5 separate regions of the Homo sapiens genome follow, and all the other regions are linked to region 5. The links are contacts of gene promoters, found by promoter capture Hi-C in blood cells and fetal thymus (Javierre and others, 2016). All regions are on one chromosome and are shown on one strand. The core of a region is centred on a gene start or on the middle of the fragment in contact, and the rest is flanking DNA. Distances in the headings are between cores, read along the strand shown.

Region 1 (3,772 bases), core at 539-3,038, 310 kb after region 5:
ATGGCCAACATGGTGAAACCCCATCTCTACTAAAAGTACAAAAATTAGCTGGACCTGGTGGCACATGCCTGTAATCCCAGCTACTCAGGAGGCTGAGGCAGGAGAATCCCTTGAACCTGGGAGGCAGAGGTTGCAGTGAGCCAAGATCATGCCACTGCATTTCAGCCTGGGTGACAGAGCAAGACTCCATTTAAATAAATAAATAAATAATCCTGGGAAAATTGATAGCTGCATGCAGAAGAGTGAAACTGGACCCATACATCTCACCATAAACAAAAATTAACTCAAGATGGATTAAAGACCTAAACATAAGACCTTGAACTATAAAAATCCTAGAAGAAAACCTAGGAAAAACTCTTCTGGACATTCACCAAAGAATTTGTGACCAATTCCTCAAATTAAAATGCAACAAAACAAAAATAGGCAAATGGGACTTAATTAAACTAAAATGCAGCAAAACAAAAATAGGCAAATGAGACATAATTAAACTAAAAAGCTTCTGCACAGCAAAAGAAATAATTAACAGAGTAAACAGACAACCTACAGAATGGGAAAAATACTTGCAAACTATGGGTCTGACAAAGGGCTAATATCTGGAATTTACATGGAACTCAAACAACTCAACAAGAAAAAAAACAACCCCCCTTAAAAAATGAGCAAAGAACATTGAAGGCCATTTTTCAAAAGAAGACATCCAAGTGGCCAAGAAACATGAAAAAAATGTTCAACATCACTAAACATCAGAGAAATGCAAATTAAAACCACAATGAGAGACCATCTTACACCAGTCAGAAAGACTATTACTAAAAAGTCAAAAAACAACAGATGTTGTCAAGGATGCAGAGAAAAGAAAACACTTATAACTGTTGGTAGGAATGTAAATTAAAACAACTTTTTGGGGGAACAGTGTGGAGATTTCTTAAAGAACTAAAAATAGAACTACTATTTGATCCAGCAATCTCACTATTTTCCCTTTGTGTATATATATCTACCCAAAGGAAAATAAATCATCATATCAAAGAGATACCGGCACTCATATGTTTATTACAGCACTATTCACCATGGCAAATATATGGAATCAGCTAAGTGTCCATCAATGGAGAACTGGACAAGGAAAATGTGATATATATATATACACACACACACACACATATTATATATAATATATATAGCATGGAATACTATTGAACCATAAAAGGAATGAGATCATGTCTTTTGCAGTAACATGGATAGAAGCAGAGGCTATTATCCTTAGTGAAATAACTCAGAAACAGAAAAGGCAAATACTGCATGTTCTCATTTATAAGTTGGAACTAAACAATGAAGACGCATGGGCATATAGAGGAGAGTAATAGACATTGGAAAGTACAAGATATGGGATGGTGGGAGGAGGTGAGGGTTACAGTGTTCACTATTTGGGTGATAGTTGCACTAAAAGCCCAGACTTTAACACTATGGAATATATGCACATAGGAAATCTGCACTTGTACCTCCTAAATATATAGAAAATAGACATTAAAAATTAAATAAAATAATTTACATTTTCTTGATCATAAGAAGCTAAGCACATTTTCATGTAGTTATTGGCTAGTTAGACGTCCTATTTGGTAAGTGCCTATTAAGTCTTTTGCTTATTGTGCAGAGGTTGGAGTCGTGGTTACTGGTTTTGAAACATATTTTGTTGCTCTTTATTGATTTACAGGAGTTTAAAAAATATTCCAGATAGGTGTCCTTTTTTGGTTGTACGTGTTGCTGACAGCTTTTCCCATACTGTAGCTTGCCTTTTTCCACCCTGGCTGGTATCTCCTGATGAACAGATGTCCTAGAGTTTAAGGGTGTGTCCTCAGGGGCTGTGTAGCACTGGTACCCTGCTGCCATCTGGGATTGGCTGTGATTGGAAATTAGATGCTCATCAGATTTAGGAAGGACAAGGAAGTGGTCAGAAAGAGACCACCTAGGCAAGGAAAAATTATTCACTTTTCAAAGTGAACATCCAAATGATAACCTTTCACAATTATCTTGTTCCTATATTGAAGAGGGTATGCTTTGAAAACAAACTTGAGTTTTATGAATAAATGACATGTAGCTTTTAGAAAGGTGGTGACAGTTCAATGAATAATGAGAATGGCTAGCTCTGTAGATCAGAGGAGTACTTATTAGTGGGTGGTAGAATGAGGGCCTTTCAAGTAAACTGGGAGGATCACCCCGAGCAAAGCTGATTGCCCAAGGCTATGGGAGGCACAGGGCTGCTTTGGCTCTGGTCCTGGTTCACTTTGGTCTTGGTCTGGGTCGTTAGGGTGAAGTTTTGCATTGAGGGCCAGAAGAGTGGGTTGCTGCTTAGTGACATGCTGGGTATTTTGACTGCTTTGTCCCTAGTTGGGAAGGTGAGATGAGTATACAAATGAGTGTGTGTGTGTGTGTGTGTGTGTGTGTGTGTGTATGCATGAGAGACGGCTCAATAATATGTGAATTCAATAAGTTTGTTTTCTGTATTTTTTTTTTAAGACAGGATCTTTCTTGCTCTGCCACCCAGGCTGAAGGACAGTGGCACGATCATAGTGCACAATATCTGGCTAATTTAAAAAAAAATTTTTTTAGAAGTGACCTTGCTACATTGCCAGGCTTGTTTTGAACTTCTGGGCTCAAGTGATCCTCCCACCTTAGCCTCCCAAAGTGTGGGGATAACAGGCATGAGCCACTGCACCAAGCCTGACTTCAATAATTTTCTGTATGGTTTATTTGTTGGTGGAGAGTAAGATATTACTTCAAGAACTTATGAGAGAGATGGAGAGAGAAATACCATATGGATTAAGAAAACCTTCCAGAGATCTCTTTTCCCATCCCTGTCAATATAGTTGTTAATTTTCCTGAGTCCATTGTTACTTTATCAAAAGGAAAAAATTATAATGACTGTGTCTTGAAAAGAAAAGAATCAAAGAAATGGCCCAAGATAGTAATTGCTGGATCGAAAGTGCCCACAAGTACTGATTGGGATGAATACATAAAGATATTCTCTATATACATATATCACAGTGAAATTTCAGAACACTAAAATGAATAAGGAAATCTTGAAAAGCTTTAGACTTTATTTTTCTAAAGCACAAATTTGACTTAATTCCTCAGGAGTATTCTGTAGATGGCTTTAAAAATGATCTTTTCTATTAAAAGAAAAAGGTGGCCAGGTGAAGTGGCTCATGCCTGCAATCCCAGCACTCTGGGAGGCTGAGGCAGGTGGATTGCTTGAGATCAGGACTTCAAGACTAGCCTGGCTAACATGTCGAAACCCCATCTCTACTAAAAACAAAAATTAGCTGGGTGTGGTGGCGGGCACCAGTAATCCCAGCTACTCCGGAGGTTGAGGCAGGAGAATCATTTGAACCTGGGAGGCAGAGGTTGCAGTGAGCTGAGATTGCACCACTGCACTCCAACCTGGGCAATAGAGTGAGACTCTGTCTCAAAAAAAAAAAAAAAGAAAAAAAAAAAAGAGAAAAAAGAATAAGGTGGCATATATGTCAATCTTCCTTTCCTTCACCGAGTCCTTATGGATAACAGGAAAAGCATTAGAAAAGGAATAGGAGAAAATATCATCTTTGGATCAGAAATCCTGCAACATCTGTGGAAGATAGGAAACAGAAGGGATCCAGGCCAGACACAGACTTAGAATAGCAGTGGTTCTGGGTTTCTGGGTGCCTCCAGGAATACACACAACAGCCATCACAGTGAGTGGGCAACTACATTTGAAGCAAGTGGACAACTTTGACCCCTCCCTCTG
Region 2 (3,530 bases), core at 170-2,669, 260 kb after region 5:
AGGTTCTAGGTGGACATGGGTTTTTTAGATCTCCAGTACTCTCAGCATTTTTCTTTAGCCTCTTTCTTTAGCTTACTACCTCTAGCCCCCTTTGTGTATGTTGTTCTGTTTTGCTGACCTTGGTCACATGCTTTTGACAGTAAAGCTTTGCACAATTCATTTCTTCCAATCCCTGTTGTGGCTGTAACCCTGCCTCCAGAGTGAGGGGCAGCCTATGCTATCATCCTCATTCGTATAACCTACTTGTCTAATCATAATCTCCAGCACTGGGTTTGGAAAATTTCTTCACCTGTTCCATGGCTTTGTATAAAATGTTATGCATGTTATTGATTCATAATAAATGCTTTCTGACTAGGATTAAAATGCTCTTTTTACAGCACAGGTGGAAGTTCAAATGCTATTTTTTTACAAAAAAAAGCAAAACATACAACTGAACACAGCTCATTACATAAATCAAAAAGTACAAAGTCCCCAAGTACTATGGTTTAGTTTTGGATGCCTTTGTTCTTCCCAGTTTTCTTCTTCCAAAGCTTCTTTCCAAGAAGAGCAGCTATGATTTTTGTTTCAGCCATGGAGTGTCTCCAGCGTTGGACACCTGTTTGCTTACCTTGTTCTAGAGACAGCTCATTAGGTTGGGCCAGGTATCTGTTATTCTACCAAGTTCAACTGTTCATCAAAATTTTTATATTTGATCCTTCTCCCAGAAAGTTAATGCAATTTGAGCCTATAAATGGTTTCCATGTTGTGCTCTTTCTTTGTTTCCCAATATGGAAGGAGAGGACAGTAACAATAGTAATGACAAAAACCCTTAATTTTATAGCATGCAGTTCTAAATGATGTGCACACTTGACAAGCCATAGATTTCTAATTTTTAACTTTATGCTTATGCAATGGTTGGTGGCAACACTGACATCATTTTGATTGGGTGCAGTAGTGTGTGCAGGGGTTTCAGGGAGTACCTAGCACTCCTCGTGGGAAGCGGGGTAGTGTGACAGGGGTAGTGGAGGAAGCAGAAGGAATAGGAGCCTCTCCTGGGGGAAGTCCTTATATCTCTGGGGCAGTACTTTCAGGGGCTTTCTTCTTCCTTCAGGAATGCCCGCATTCTTTCTTAGGGGCCCACACGACTCAAAACTACACATGCTGGCAGCATGAGTGTCTGAATGATAACCATGATGGGCAGGAGGTTCCATGCTCGGTATGTGAGTACTAGAGGTGGTTCAAGTGTGGGCCAAGTGGGTAGGAAGGCTTTGTTCATGTCTCCCTTTGGTGGGAGAGCCTTTATAATGCCTGATTTTTGGATGCAACTTTATAGTATCAAATCTCAATACCAAGTTATGTAAGTAGTTGAATTTTTCTGTTACAGTTGTTATTTCTACATATTGATTTACACCTATCAACATGACTCCAAGGGTCTGGCTAGTTATACAACATCAGCAGCAAACAGGTTCCTGGGTCTCTTGCCTTCAGTTTCATGTGTTCTTGCTAACCTTTTGGCTAAAATGTTTAGGTCATTGTACCCTCGGCTCAGGCAGCAAAGCTGTCCTTTAGATGCCAGGGCTGCCAAATATCTCTTCATATACACACCTGTCTCATGCCCACTTCTTCCTCACTCCTCCCTGAGAGATGACAGTGCCCCCTCACTCTTTCAACCCAGGTAAAAGGCAAGGTAACATTGAAGGACTTGACTTTAGCCATGTTGGTTTCTTCCCTGCACTTTAGAGTAACAATAATTCCTATGCATTCAGTCCACAGGTCTCAGCAGGCTGCGAAGTGCTTTGCAGTCATGAACTCATGTCATCCTCATTGTGGTCTCTACGCAGTCATGAACTCATGTCATCCTCATTGTGGTCTCTACGACGGGTCGCAGGCCACACCTAGTCACCACCTATGTTCATATGGCCTTTGGTCTAGGAATAGGTTTCACATTTTTAAATGGTTGAAAAAAACCAAAAGATATATAAGATTTTTGTGGCATACAAAAATGATACAAATTCAAACTTCAGTGTTTTATTGGAGCACAGCTATACACACTTGTTTATGTATTGGTGGTGGCTGCTTCTCTACTACAACAACTGGGTGGAGTCGTTGAGACAGAAAACTCGAGCCTTCCAAAGTTGAAAATATTTATTCTCTAGCCCTTTACAGAGAAAGTTTGATGCCCTGCTCTCTGTGGTTGGTTCCATTATTATTCCCATTTTACAGATGAGGAAATGGAGGCAGGGAGTTTTAAGTTTGGACGCAGCAATTTGTTCAAATGACAAACTTGAGGTTAGAAGTATGGGACCCCAAAGTCTCTTTTCAAGCTTCTCCTGAGCAGGCATAGGCAGGAAGAGAATTCAGAGACCAAGGATTTGTGAGGCAACCACTCAGCATTCCAATCTCCCTTAAGAGAGTTCTCTGAGTGACTGTAGTCAGTGCCTACGAGTGTGGGTGGGCATGCCTGTGTGTGATAAAAGCATAGGAGGGAACTGTAACGAGAGGAAGATGAATTAAACATGATTTTAAAAACCTGTCTCTGCTTTGGAAGCTGGGGAAACACAGTGATTATCATTTCAGTAAGAGTGGGGGAAGGATCATCACTGTTGCTGATGATGCTGATAGTAACAGTTGTTGTTTAATGATTATAATCATTTCCATGTAGAAGAGAGCAGTCATGAATGCAGCCTGCACTCTCTGTGGCTGGCTTATTTACACATATTTCTAGAGTCACAGTTGGAGAATGAGTGAGCAATGTTCTCCCCTTTAGGTGCTCAAGCGTCATTTTGCATATGTGCAGAGGTAGTTTGTGCTTTCGAACCATATCATTATTGAATGCAGCACAGTTGAATCCATTGGCATCACTGTGCATGGCATGTGCACAACAGGAATATAGGCAACAGTGACCAAGCTGAGAATAAAATCAAGAACTCAATCCCTTTCACAATAGCTACAAATAAATAAATAAATAAATAAATAAATAAATAAATAAATACTTAAGAATATACCTAACCAAGGAGGTGAAAGACCTCTACAAGGGAAACTACAAAACACTGCTGAAAGAAATCATAGACAACACAAACAAACGGAAACACATCCCATGCTCATGGATGGATGGAATCAATATTGTGAAAATGACCATACTGCCGAAGGCAATTTACAAATTCAGTGTAATTCCCGTCAAAATACCACCATCATTCTTCACATAACTAGAAAAAACAATTCTAAAAACCATATGGAACCAAAAAAGAGCCCACATAGACAAAGCAAGACTATGCAAAAAGAAAAAATCTGGAGGCATCACATTACCCGACTTCAAACTATATACTATAAGGTCATAGTCACCAAACAGCATGGTACTGGTATAAAAATAGGCACATAGACCAATGGAACAGAATAGAAAACCAAGAAATAAAGCCAAATACTTACAGCCAACTGATCAACAAAGCAAACAAAAACGTAAAGTGGGGAAAGGACACCCTGTTCAACAAATGGTTCTGGGATAATTGGCAAGCCACATATAGAAGAATGAAACTGGATCCTCATCTCTCACC
Region 3 (3,498 bases), core at 50-2,549, 280 kb before region 5:
AAGTAAAGTGCATTTGTTTGACATATTTCTTTAGAATCTCTGTGTGAAGCAGTGATGTCCATGCTGGCTGCCACACAATTAGTACACGTGGGAAGCTTTTTAAAAATACTGATTTCTGGGTCCTACTTCACAGGGATTCTGATTTAATTGGTCTGAGATGGTACCTGGGCATTGGCACTTTCTTTTTATAAAGCTACCAGGTGATTTGCATCTGGATTCGAGAACCATAGTGCTAACTTATAGCCTAACACTGGAAAAATTTAATGAAAGTTTTACTATGACTTACAGGACTTTAAATGAACTGGGTTGTTTAAAAAGTGTCATGATGGAAATAATGAAACTGAAATGATTATTTTTTAAAGAAATAGTGATGTGACAGTATCTGAGTAAAGAGGAATTATGGCAATATAATTTGAGCATGAAATCAGGAGCTTTTCTTCTCTGATTCAATTCCTAAGTCCACCTACTTCTCTTTGAAATATTTTTGGATATAGGCCGGGTGCGGTGGCTCACGCCTGTAATCCCAGCACTTTGGGAGGCCGAGGCAGGTGGATCACGAGGTCAGGAGATCGAGACCATCCTAGCTAACACAGTGAAACCCCGTCTGTACTAAAAATACAAAAAATTAGCCAGGCGTGGTGGTGGGCGCCTGTAATCCCAGCTACTCAGGAGGCTGAGGCAGGAGAATGGTGTGAACCCGGGAGGCGGAGCTTGCAGTGAGCTGAGATTGCGCCACTGCACTCCAGCCTGGGGACAGAGCGAGACTCCATCTCAAGAAAAAAAAAAAAAGAAATATTTTTGGATATAAACAAATAATGCGGGTAGTAAATGTAGGTTATTTTTAGTTCATTCTGCGATTGAAATAAAAACTTTTTTTTCTTTTTTGAGTATGGTACATTATGGTGTTCAAAGTGTTTTCTTTTAATTGCCATCTCATCTGTTTACCTTGCACTCTGATGCAAGGTAAACAGATACCTGTTTTTAAAATGAATAACCAACTTTATTTATAAACCATACCTATTTTTAAAATGAATAACCAACTTTATTTGTATTGAATTTTTTACTCTTCATTGATTATGACCTCACGATACCAAAAAACATAAAAGCTAAGGATGGCTTGATTATTAACAAAACTGAAAAAAAAAACGAATGCCTTTTAATTGATACTAATTAATTCTTCTAATCTACTGATTAACTTTTTTGAATTATATATTTGATTAATTTATAAAAGATTAATCTAGGCCAGGTGCAGTGGCTCACACCTGTTATCCCAGCACTTTGGGAGGCCAAGGCAGGTGGATCACCTGAGGTCAGGAGTTCAAGACCAGCCTGGCCAACGTGGTGAAACCCCATCTCTACTAAAAATACAAAAAAATTAGCCAGGTGTGGTAGCGCATGCCTGTAATCCCAACTACTCGGGAGGCTAAGGCAGGAGAATCACTTGAACCCGAGGTAGAGGTTGCAGTGAGCCAAGATTGTGACACTGCACTCTAGCCTGGGCAACAGGCCGAGACTCCGTCTCAAGAAAAAAAAAAGGATTAATCTATTAGGCTTTACAAATCAAAAGACTGGAATGAAGGGTTTTTCTTTTGTCAGTCATTTTAAGGAATTGAGTGTGACTCATGACTCAAGATAAACTAGATTGTTTTTTCAAAAAATTGTAGCTTTTAGAATATAAACATCAAAATAAGTGCTGTCTGTTAAAATAGTTTCTTTGGGAGATTATCCAAAATTATTTGATGATGTTGCTGATGTTATTATTATTATCTGAAATGCTGTTGACTTTTTAAAAAAGGGACTATCTTGGCCAGGCTGTTTAGCAAATGGTAACTGTTAACTATACTAGGTTTTGATGAAAACTTGGCTTAAAAACATGTTATTACTATTTTAAGTGATTGTTGGGGCCAAGGAATGCCATGTGGAGAGTGCAGGTGAAGTGATGAGTCTTTTGGAGATGGGGAATGCAGCCAGACATACAGGTACCACTCAAATGAATGAGCACTCCAGCAGATCACATGCAATTTTTACAATCAGCATTTGTCAAGTTCATAAAAATATGGAGGCAGCTGAAGATGGATCATGGTATTCCCCTCGGCATATTGTCTCAAAGTTCCACTTTGTGGATTTGGCAGGATCAGAAAGAGTAACCAAAACGGGGAATACTGGTGAACGGTTCAAAGAATCCATTCAAATCAATAGTGGATTGCTGGCTTTAGGAAATGTAATAAGCGCTCTTGGGGACCCACGCAGGAAGAGTTCACATATTCCATATAGGGATGCTAAAATTACCCGGCTTCTGAAAGATTCTCTGGGAGGCAGTGCTAAGACTGTCATGATCACATGTGTCAGCCCCTCCTCCTCGAATTTTGATGAGTCCTTAAATTCTCTCAAATATGCCAACAGAGCACGGAACATTAGAAACAAACCCACTGTAAACTTCAGCCCCGAGTCAGACCGTATAGATGAAATGGAATTTGAGATTAAATTGCTTCGAGAAGCTTTGCAAAGCCAGCAGGCTGGTGTCAGCCAAACTACCCAGATCAATCGAGAAGGGAGTCCTGATACAAATAGGATTCATTCTCTTGAGGAGCAAGTAGCTCAGCTTCAAGGAGAATGTCTGGGTTACCAGTGTTGTGTAGAAGAAGCCTTTACCTTCCTGGTTGACCTAAAAGATACTGTCAGACTAAACGAAAAGCAGCAACACAAACTGCAGGAGTGGTTTAACATGATCCAAGAGGTCAGGAAGGCTGTCCTCACCTCATTTCGAGGAATCGGAGGCACTGCAAGTCTGGAAGAAGGACCACAGCATGTTACAGTTCTCCAGCTGAAGAGAGAGCTTAAGAAATGCCAGGTACTTAGACATCACTTATTTATTTATTTATTTATTTTATTGATACATAATAGATGTACATATTTTGGGGGTACATGTGTTAACATATTTAGACATTGTTATGGATAACTCTTTTAAGGACTAAATTTATTTGGGCAAGTAAATTCTAAGAGTGATTTTGGAATTTCAGGTTTTTTTAAAAAATGATTTATATATGGAATCCCACTTGCCTCTCTTACTTTGTTCTTTCTACCCTCCCCTTTCCTATTGCTTCCTCCTCACAATTCATACCCTTCTTGGCTCCTCCTCCTTTCTCCTTTGGTTAAAGTGTATTTTAATTTGTTATATTTATTAAATAGAACTTTGTGGACCTGGTTGTCAATTTAGAGACTGAAAATAAACTTGTTTCGGAAATAAAACTTAAGTTATCTTTTACTGAGTTTTTCTCCCTCTCTTGGTCAGTAGTTCTTGAAAGAAAAAAATACTTCATCTCTTGTGTTTGGAGTATAGGTTTTAAAAAAAACCAACAAATTAGCATATTTATTAATGTTTAAGGAATGTAGGTATATACATGTATACATGTTACATGTACGTGTATTGAGTTCAGATTTACATTTCCCCACTTTTCATTCAGAAACTGTTTATTGTGTGAAGATTGTATGTCGTGG
Region 4 (3,360 bases), core at 113-2,612, 290 kb after region 5:
AAAGGGGAGAAAATATTCTTACTGCAGGGAATGTGGAAATCACATCGTGAAGGAGGAATATTTGTAATGTATGGATAGGCTGTTTTGCGTGGCAGCGCAATTTTTCTGGGCACTGTCAAGGACACCCTGGTGTCCTCCGTCAATAACAATCTCAACAGTTTGGAGTCCTATGAGTGGCTGTTTATGATCCATCAGTAGTTATTAGATCCATGTATTTTCTTACACATATGGATTTCTAAACACCCTGAGCTTCTGAAAGTGGAATCTAAGGTAAATAAGTAAACCTTTCTGATTTGAATTTTGTGTTGCCTTTTTCCCACCGGTGGCCATAGCTGGAAGCATTGACTCCAAGTAGAATAGAATCCATTGGGAAGATTCCCTTTGCTGAGCTACTTTCAAGATGACAGATTTAGTGTCTGATCCTCTTTTTCTCACCTGCGATGCTTCAATGATAGCTGCACAGTAGCAGTGGTAGAAGCAAAATTGCATAGAGCATTCACCACGTTCCTAACACTGTTCTAAGCACTTTGCACATATTAACTCGTTTAATCTTCACAACAACCTAGGAGATAGGTTATTGTTATTCTCATATTACAGATGAGGGAACCGAGGCACAGAGAGGTTAAACAACCTACCCAAGGTCACGCAGCTAGTAAGTATCAGAGCTGGGATTTGAATTCTGGCAGTCTTGGTCTAGAGTCTGTGCCTTTATGCCCTGTGTGATGGTTACACTCTACATGGGCTGCTGGGAATCAAATGAAGTGTGTGTAGGGATCATTGCCAACTTGGAATTTAGGTAATTCAAGTAGTCTAGTCTGTAGCTAGAATTTAGATACTGTGCAAACTACAGAAAAAAAAATCATTTTGGTAATAGCAAGCATGGGCAGTGTTATGACAAGTGTTGATGAAAAACTGCAAGAACTGAGATGCTTCCATGTTCTAGGCCTCTGGTAAGTATAAAGAAAATTGCATCATTGGATTATGCATTCTGGAACAGACAACTGTCCCGGTGTGAGGAAATTGTTCTAGCTCCCTCCTTTATGCAGGCGCGCCCCCTACTGGTGAGTCTGGGAAGAGTATATGTGAGGGCATTCAAGGTGGCAGCTTATTTCAGCTGGGAAAATATGACGCTTAGTCTTAGAGATAAAGATGATTAGACATCAAAACATTGTACTACTTTCAGAAAGCAACAGGCCATCTATGTGGGTAATTTTAGAGTATTGTCTCCTAATGAAAAGCCTTGTTGAAGATACATGAAATTCTCACTACTCTTTTGCTATTTTGGAGACAAATGTACTAGAGGTAGAAATAAAGTTCGATATTTTTGTGGAGGGGTTTGTGGCAGAGCAGTGTTCCGGGGAGCACAGGGTGAGAATCCCTGGATGAAGGAGTTGCACCCACTGTTTGAATTGATAGGAGATGGGAATGGAAAGGTTTTCTATGCCCTGAATTTGCAGGGCCTCTAACGCTCAGAACATAGGATAATAATATACACTTATTGAGCATTTACTTACTAGATGCCAAAACATTGTGCTAAGAGCTTTAAGTGCATTATCCCACTCAGTTCTCCCAAACTCTATTAGATGGGCGCTATTGTTCTTTCTAGTGTGGGATGAGGAAAGTACAAGCTGAAGTGGTTAAAGGACTTGTGCTTTGTAAATAGTGGAGTCAGGACTTGAACCTTGGGTTACCTGGCTCAAGGTATGCCCATGCTCTTCTCCCTTTGTTGAGCGTTTAAAGGGAATCAGGTAGTCGGGTAGGTGTTTCACGGTGATCACCATGTCAGCGGTGCCTGAGGATGGAGAACCAGGGCAGGAGGGCCAGTTAGTAATTTCTGGTATTCAGACAAGAAACGGGAAGGACCTGAAAAAGAATAGGAGTAAAGGAAATTGAAAGAAGAGAGTCATGAGAGGCGTTGCAGCCAGACTTGGTGATCCACAATTTCATGAGAAAATGAGTGAATCACAGAAGATTCCAAGTTGTTTTATTAACATTCAGAAAGCTGTAGCTTGGACCCTGGGCCAGCACCTGAGCTTGTGGAGATCACTGAAAGTGGTCATCATGCACTCAGGGAAGACGGGGGTCATCAGTCACTCGCACTTTATAAATCTTGGAAGTAAGTTCTGTGGTTTGATCAAAGCTGCCATTCTATGGCACATGTGGTCCTGCACATTTGAAACATCCATTAAGCCTTTGTGAAGAGTTGGGAGTTGTATGCCTGAAGGATGAACCTGTCAGGAATCATATCACCTTGCAAGGACAGCTTCAGGGGCTATTTCCCTGTGTATTTTTGCTCATTCTAAGTAGTTCTGTATTTCATTCAGCATCAGTGCAGCAGAGAGATACTTTTGGTTTGGAGGGTAAGACAAGAAGAGCAGAAGAGGCTGACAGTGCAGAGGGAGAGGAGCTTTCTTGCGTCTGTTGGGAAACCTGCTACAGGGACTGAAGGTGCTCTGGGGGTGCCACCACCCCTTCATACACAGGTCAAGAAAGTGTTATCTGTCTTGTGTAAGGAATTGGGCCTTGGTTGAATTACTCTGCAAACCTGACCAAGCCAGGAAGGAGTCATGGATGGAGAAGACCTGTGCTTGGCTGCACCAAACCATGGCCATCCTGCTCTCCAGAGTCACCACAACACCCGTGACCCTCCCACTTAGCTAGGGATGGTGTGTGGCCATCGAACTGCTGTTCTGAAGACTTCCTGAGAGGATTCCAGTTGGCTTTTGTTGGGGTTTGAGGGACCCAATAAATAACCTCCTTCTTCCTTCCTGCTTTCTGAATCAGCTGAGAAATAAAACACAACAGGTGCTCAAATATTAGCAGAAATGATGATTTACAGGGAGATCAACATGTTTACCTCAGGAGGGGGTGGTTTCACAACCTTCTCCCAGCCTTTTTATTGATTAGGATTATTCTGCTCCTGTGATCTCTGAGAGAGGAAAAAAAGTCACCATTCTTGGCAGAAAATTAATGAGAGAGAAAAAAGAAATTTCCTCTCTGGGAGGCTACAGACTGCTTGAAGGTGGGACCAAGATGGCCTGATAGATAGGCAAGAATAACAGAGTTCTTTGGGGGATGGTGGGGGGAGAGAGAGAGAGAGAGAGAAAGAGAGAGAGAGAGACTGACTCTTCCTTGGAGTTTTAAGAAGACCAAGATTTTAAGAAGAATTTTCATGAACTAAATTAGATTGATGACTGAAGGTAAAAGTTCATGCTTGGATCAATGTTTCTTCTTCTGAGTCCTTCACTGTACTGGAGGATAGGGAGAAGCAACAGTCTTGCAAATATAGTAGCATGTTATAGTTATCGATCATCTCTATTTCAGTCAAGATCAGTTAGATTTTGCTGAGGAAACAAACAC
Region 5 (3,813 bases), core at 21-2,520:
CATAGAGTAAGGATTGAGCTCAATAATTACTGAGTACATGAATATCACAAGCTATACATCATAGGGATTAGGCCTCCCTCATCTGATTCAAGACTCAGAGGGGGTACATGAACTGCCCAGGCTCACACAGCCAGACAGCAACAGAACCAAGACCTAGGGCTCTTCACTCCTGTTACATCACACCATGGCAATGATTTTACATTCTCCAACTGATTCAAATCATATGGCAGCTAGGGATTTGGGGGCTCCATGTTTTATTTCAATTGCAGTTCAAGATTTCTTTTTATCTTTGTGGCTGAGAACCCTACAATAATTTTGGAAAGCAAAACCCATCTACCTGGAGTAAATCTTTAATATACACCTGACTACACAGGCCACAACATGGGCCGTTCCTGATTCAGAAAATTCTAGAAGGGTCCTATAGGCCCTTGAAGGTTATGATGTTTTAGCTGATCAAGTTCTGTCCTTTGCTGCCTGTGGTCGAATGGTACAGCAGCTGTCTTTTCTGATAAAGGGCACAGTTAGACTTTGGTTTAAACAGGAAGCCAAATGTTAACTCCTCAGTCTCCAGGTTAGCACACTGGGCTACCTCTGTGGTTTCCACAATTCTCTTCTTTCTTTCCAAACCCTCAGGAGCCACCCTCCATATTAACGCTGTCTCCTTCCAGGTTAAGCTGATGAAAGGAAGGGGAAAACGATTCACTTTCCAAAATTGAATCGGAGAAGTCCAGGGCCTCATAGGAGGAGGCCGCTGTGTGTCCAGATGGCCAAAGGTCTGTGAGAGCCTGGGCCGTGGTTTGCGTCCTCTCGCTAGAGGCCGTGCGCCCTCCCGCCTGGCCCCGACAAGGCGCCCCGAAACCTAGCCCCGCGCCGCTCGCTAGGCCTCCACCTGCGCGGCCCCGCAGCCGCCTGTTCAGGAGCGGCTTCCTCCCTGAGCCTGCGGTCGCCGCAGCCTCCCCGTCTTAGAGCGGGAACCCGGAGCTCGGATGCGGTCCCAGGATGGGCGCCCCGCGAGCAGGCTGGAGGGCGGGGAGAGGGCGCGGCAGCCGCGGGCCTCGGTTTCTTCATCTGCAAAGGGAAGGGTGGGGGGTCCCCAAGACCCCAGTCCACCGGCAGGGACGGCGACGCGTCCGGCCTCCGCCGCGCCCGCAACACTTGTCCCGGGCGCCCCCCGCCCTCTCCCGGACCTACTTCCCCGAGCCGCTCACGCCCATCACCAGCAGCGCGCCCGGCGCCGCCATAACCCAAGCTCGGCTCCTTCCCGTCGCCTTCCGGGCCCCGCCGGCCCCGGCCTACCCGGCGCTCGAGGGGCGGAGCCGCTCTCGCCCCGGCCGGGGCAGTGAGGGCCGTGCCCCTCTGCGCCCTCCCCGTTTTCCCGCGCCCCTTTTCCATGCTTTCCTCCTCCCTTTCCCAACCTCCCGGCCTCTCTCTCCTGCCCCTTCTTTTCCTCTCCCCTCCCCTCCCTCTTTCCTCTTCCCGGAAGTGAAGCGCGCGCCCGGCCTGGCACTCGCGTCTCCCTGGGCTGGAGGGAGCCGCCCAAAGCCCCGCCACCTGTCGTTCTACTGCCCCGGCCCCTCTTGGTTCCAGAGGATCCTCACCCTGGCAGGCCGGATCCTCATCCACCCATGGAAAGCATTCATTCATTCATTTATAAAAATGTTCTTGTAAAAAGAATAAACAGAAAATAAGACTCATAATTTCCCACACCAGGCAGCAATAAGCAGCACTTCCTAAAACGACTCCCCTTTCCCCGCGCCCCGTCGTAGATAGATGGGTATGAGTATTTTGTAAAACTGGGATCAGGCCGTACACAGCGTTTTGTAATCTGGCCTTTTGTCACAATAATAAATGGCGGCCATCTTTTGGTGTCAAACTTAGGGTTGAGTGTTGACCGTAGCAGCATATGTCTTGGCTGTATGGCTCTGCTGTTAAATCCAGCACTGGTTGGGGCTTTAAGAGGAAGGAGCACCACTTTAAAGTGTCCATTTGCTTTAAAACAATGTTAATTATGTGTCGTTTGAACTATTTGATTAAAAGCACTTCTTTTTTTTTTTGAGACGGAGTCTCGCTCTGTCGCCCAGGTGGGACTGCGGACTGCAGTGGCGCAATCTCGGCTCACTGCAAGCTCCGCTTCCCGGGTTCACGCCATTCTCCTGCCTCAGCCTCCCGAGTAGCTGGGACTACAGGCGCCCGCCACCGCGCCCGGCTAATTTTTTTTGTATTTTTAGTAGAGACGGGGTTTCACCTTGTTAGCCAGGATGGTCTCGATCTCCTGACCTCATGATCCACCCGCCTCGGCCTCCCAAAGTGATTAAAAGCACTTCTAACCGCATTTGGCATCACCTCCTTTGGTCTTTTGTTAACCAAGGTAGGTATTACTCTGTGTCCTAGAAAACAATAAAAGTGACATAAAAGCATTTATCTAATGAATAGTTCAATTACCCCTGCACTGCCTTTGTTTTTCATATACTTAGCCCGAGTAGGTGAGATTTCAATCTGGATGGGGGCTGTACAGGTGAAGAAATTGAGGCTTGGAGAGAGGTCTTACAATTCAGTTATGGTCAATACACATTTCTTGAACATCTACCATGTGCTGGTTAATATCATATTAATATTCATTTAAAAGATTACCCTCTAGGCATTCTCAAGCTTGATAAGAGGAATAGATGTGTATGCAAATACTCTTAACTCGTGCCCTGCTTCGCTAGCTCAGTATGAAAAAAAAAAGCTCATATTTCTTTCAATGTTCAAATCAGAATGATTAGCAGAAAATCTGATTCTTCTCCTTGGATTTCTTTCCCCAGACATGTCCAAGGATCTTAAACTTGCTGTGCTGCTCAGGGTGGTGGCAGGAAACAGCATGCTCAAATTGGGGCAGGTGAACAGGATTTAACAAAGGGACTATTAGCACAGGTGTGGGTAGGGTCAGAAAAAGCAACTAGGGGCAGAGTCCACATCTGAGTAACCGAGAAGTGTTTTCACTCTTAAATAGAAAGGGGCTGATGAGAGGGAGCCTTTATATGGGAAGGGAAGAGAATGGAAGGAGAGAGACAGAGAGAATAGACCATATAGAAAGAAGTGTCTGACAGGACTGTAGCCTTAGGAAGAGAGAGATAGACATTCCTTGTTGACCCAGCAGAAAAATAATCAGGAGAATAAATAACCTCCCCTCCCCTCCTCTTGCCCTGTGATCTCCTGCTCGTGGCCAAACCCCACCAGCCAAACCCAATTGGAAGGTGGAGAGCTAGGGAGTCCGGCGGTGCCCATGCATGCCAATTTCCTGGGCTCAGAGCAGGGAAGAGAAGGGTGGAGATTGTATCTGGAGGTACCAATGAAAGATACCCAGCATGCCAGTGTCAGTGAAACTCTGTGCCTGCTTCCAGGACAGCGGAACTTCAAAGGTGCCCCTAAGAGCTGAATTCCACGTTTTTTTTTTTGCTTTCCAAAGAGTGCCACCTGCTGGTCCTGGTTGTCTCGGTGCTTCCCAGCTGTTACTATGGGGCAACCCAGATGCTGAATATTGGTCTGGTTTTAGGTCCTGTCTACTGCAAGAACTGTTGTACTGAGGCACATGGTACTCTGGAAACCCCGAGTCCCTAGCGAGGCACAGCTTCTTGCATGCGTTTCTATAGTCACTCAAGTCCAGATCACCCCCAGATTCTGGACAGCATGTACTGTAAGTCTCAAACAGAAATGGCAGCGCTCCTGTATGAAGCTGACCATTTCCACAGCGGTTAAACAGAGCTCAGTGACGAGCACCTTAATGCGCACAGGCACTTCCCTGGGAGGCAAATCATCCACAAAGATGGCTGG

What was found. Contacts are between HindIII fragments. The CHiCAGO score rates a contact against its expected background, and 5 or more counts as called.
Region 1: a contact is called between a fragment that was not itself captured here and the fragment with the promoter of IDNK in region 5, in 1 of 17 cell types (neutrophils). The highest score is 6.3, in neutrophils.
Region 2: a fragment that was not itself captured here is called in contact with the fragment with the promoter of IDNK in region 5 in 1 of 17 cell types (neutrophils); the score reaches 8.2 in neutrophils.
Region 3: a fragment that was not itself captured here is called in contact with the fragment with the promoter of IDNK in region 5 in 12 of 17 cell types (naive CD8 T cells, non-activated CD4 T cells, total CD8 T cells and 9 more); the score reaches 14.4 in naive CD8 T cells.
Region 4: a contact is called between a fragment that was not itself captured here and the fragment with the promoter of IDNK in region 5, in 6 of 17 cell types (neutrophils, M0 macrophages, monocytes and 3 more). The highest score is 11.0, in neutrophils.

The regions. Positions count from the first base shown.
Region 1 is chr9:83,315,861-83,319,632 of GRCh38, reverse strand. The region is part of intron 6 of FRMD3 (FERM domain containing 3); the gene reads left to right. Among named protein-coding and RNA genes, the nearest start is that of FRMD3-AS1, 98 kb to the right of the region's middle. The HindIII fragment of the contact is 2,580 bases long and covers 499-3,078 here.
Region 2 is chr9:83,358,114-83,361,643 of GRCh38, reverse strand. The region is part of intron 3 of FRMD3 (FERM domain containing 3); the gene reads left to right. Among named protein-coding and RNA genes, the nearest start is that of FRMD3-AS1, 140 kb to the right of the region's middle. The HindIII fragment of the contact is 1,773 bases long and covers 533-2,305 here.
Region 3 is chr9:83,902,413-83,905,910 of GRCh38, reverse strand. KIF27 (kinesin family member 27) reads left to right here. Exons shown (of 18, transcript NM_017576.4): 4 at 1,893-2,851. Among named protein-coding and RNA genes, the nearest start is that of KIF27, 17 kb to the left of the region's middle. The HindIII fragment of the contact is 2,403 bases long and covers 98-2,500 here.
Region 4 is chr9:83,332,124-83,335,483 of GRCh38, reverse strand. All of the region lies in intron 6 of FRMD3 (FERM domain containing 3), which reads left to right. Among named protein-coding and RNA genes, the nearest start is that of FRMD3-AS1, 110 kb to the right of the region's middle. The HindIII fragment of the contact is 7,328 bases long and covers 1-3,360 here.
Region 5 is chr9:83,620,600-83,624,412 of GRCh38, reverse strand. IDNK (IDNK gluconokinase) reads right to left here and starts at 1,270. Exons shown (of 5, transcript NM_001001551.4): 1 at 1,192-1,270. The coding sequence starts at 1,241. RefSeq lists enhancers at 666-715, 736-865 and a silencer at 1,046-1,575. The HindIII fragment of the contact is 10,566 bases long and covers 1-2,651 here.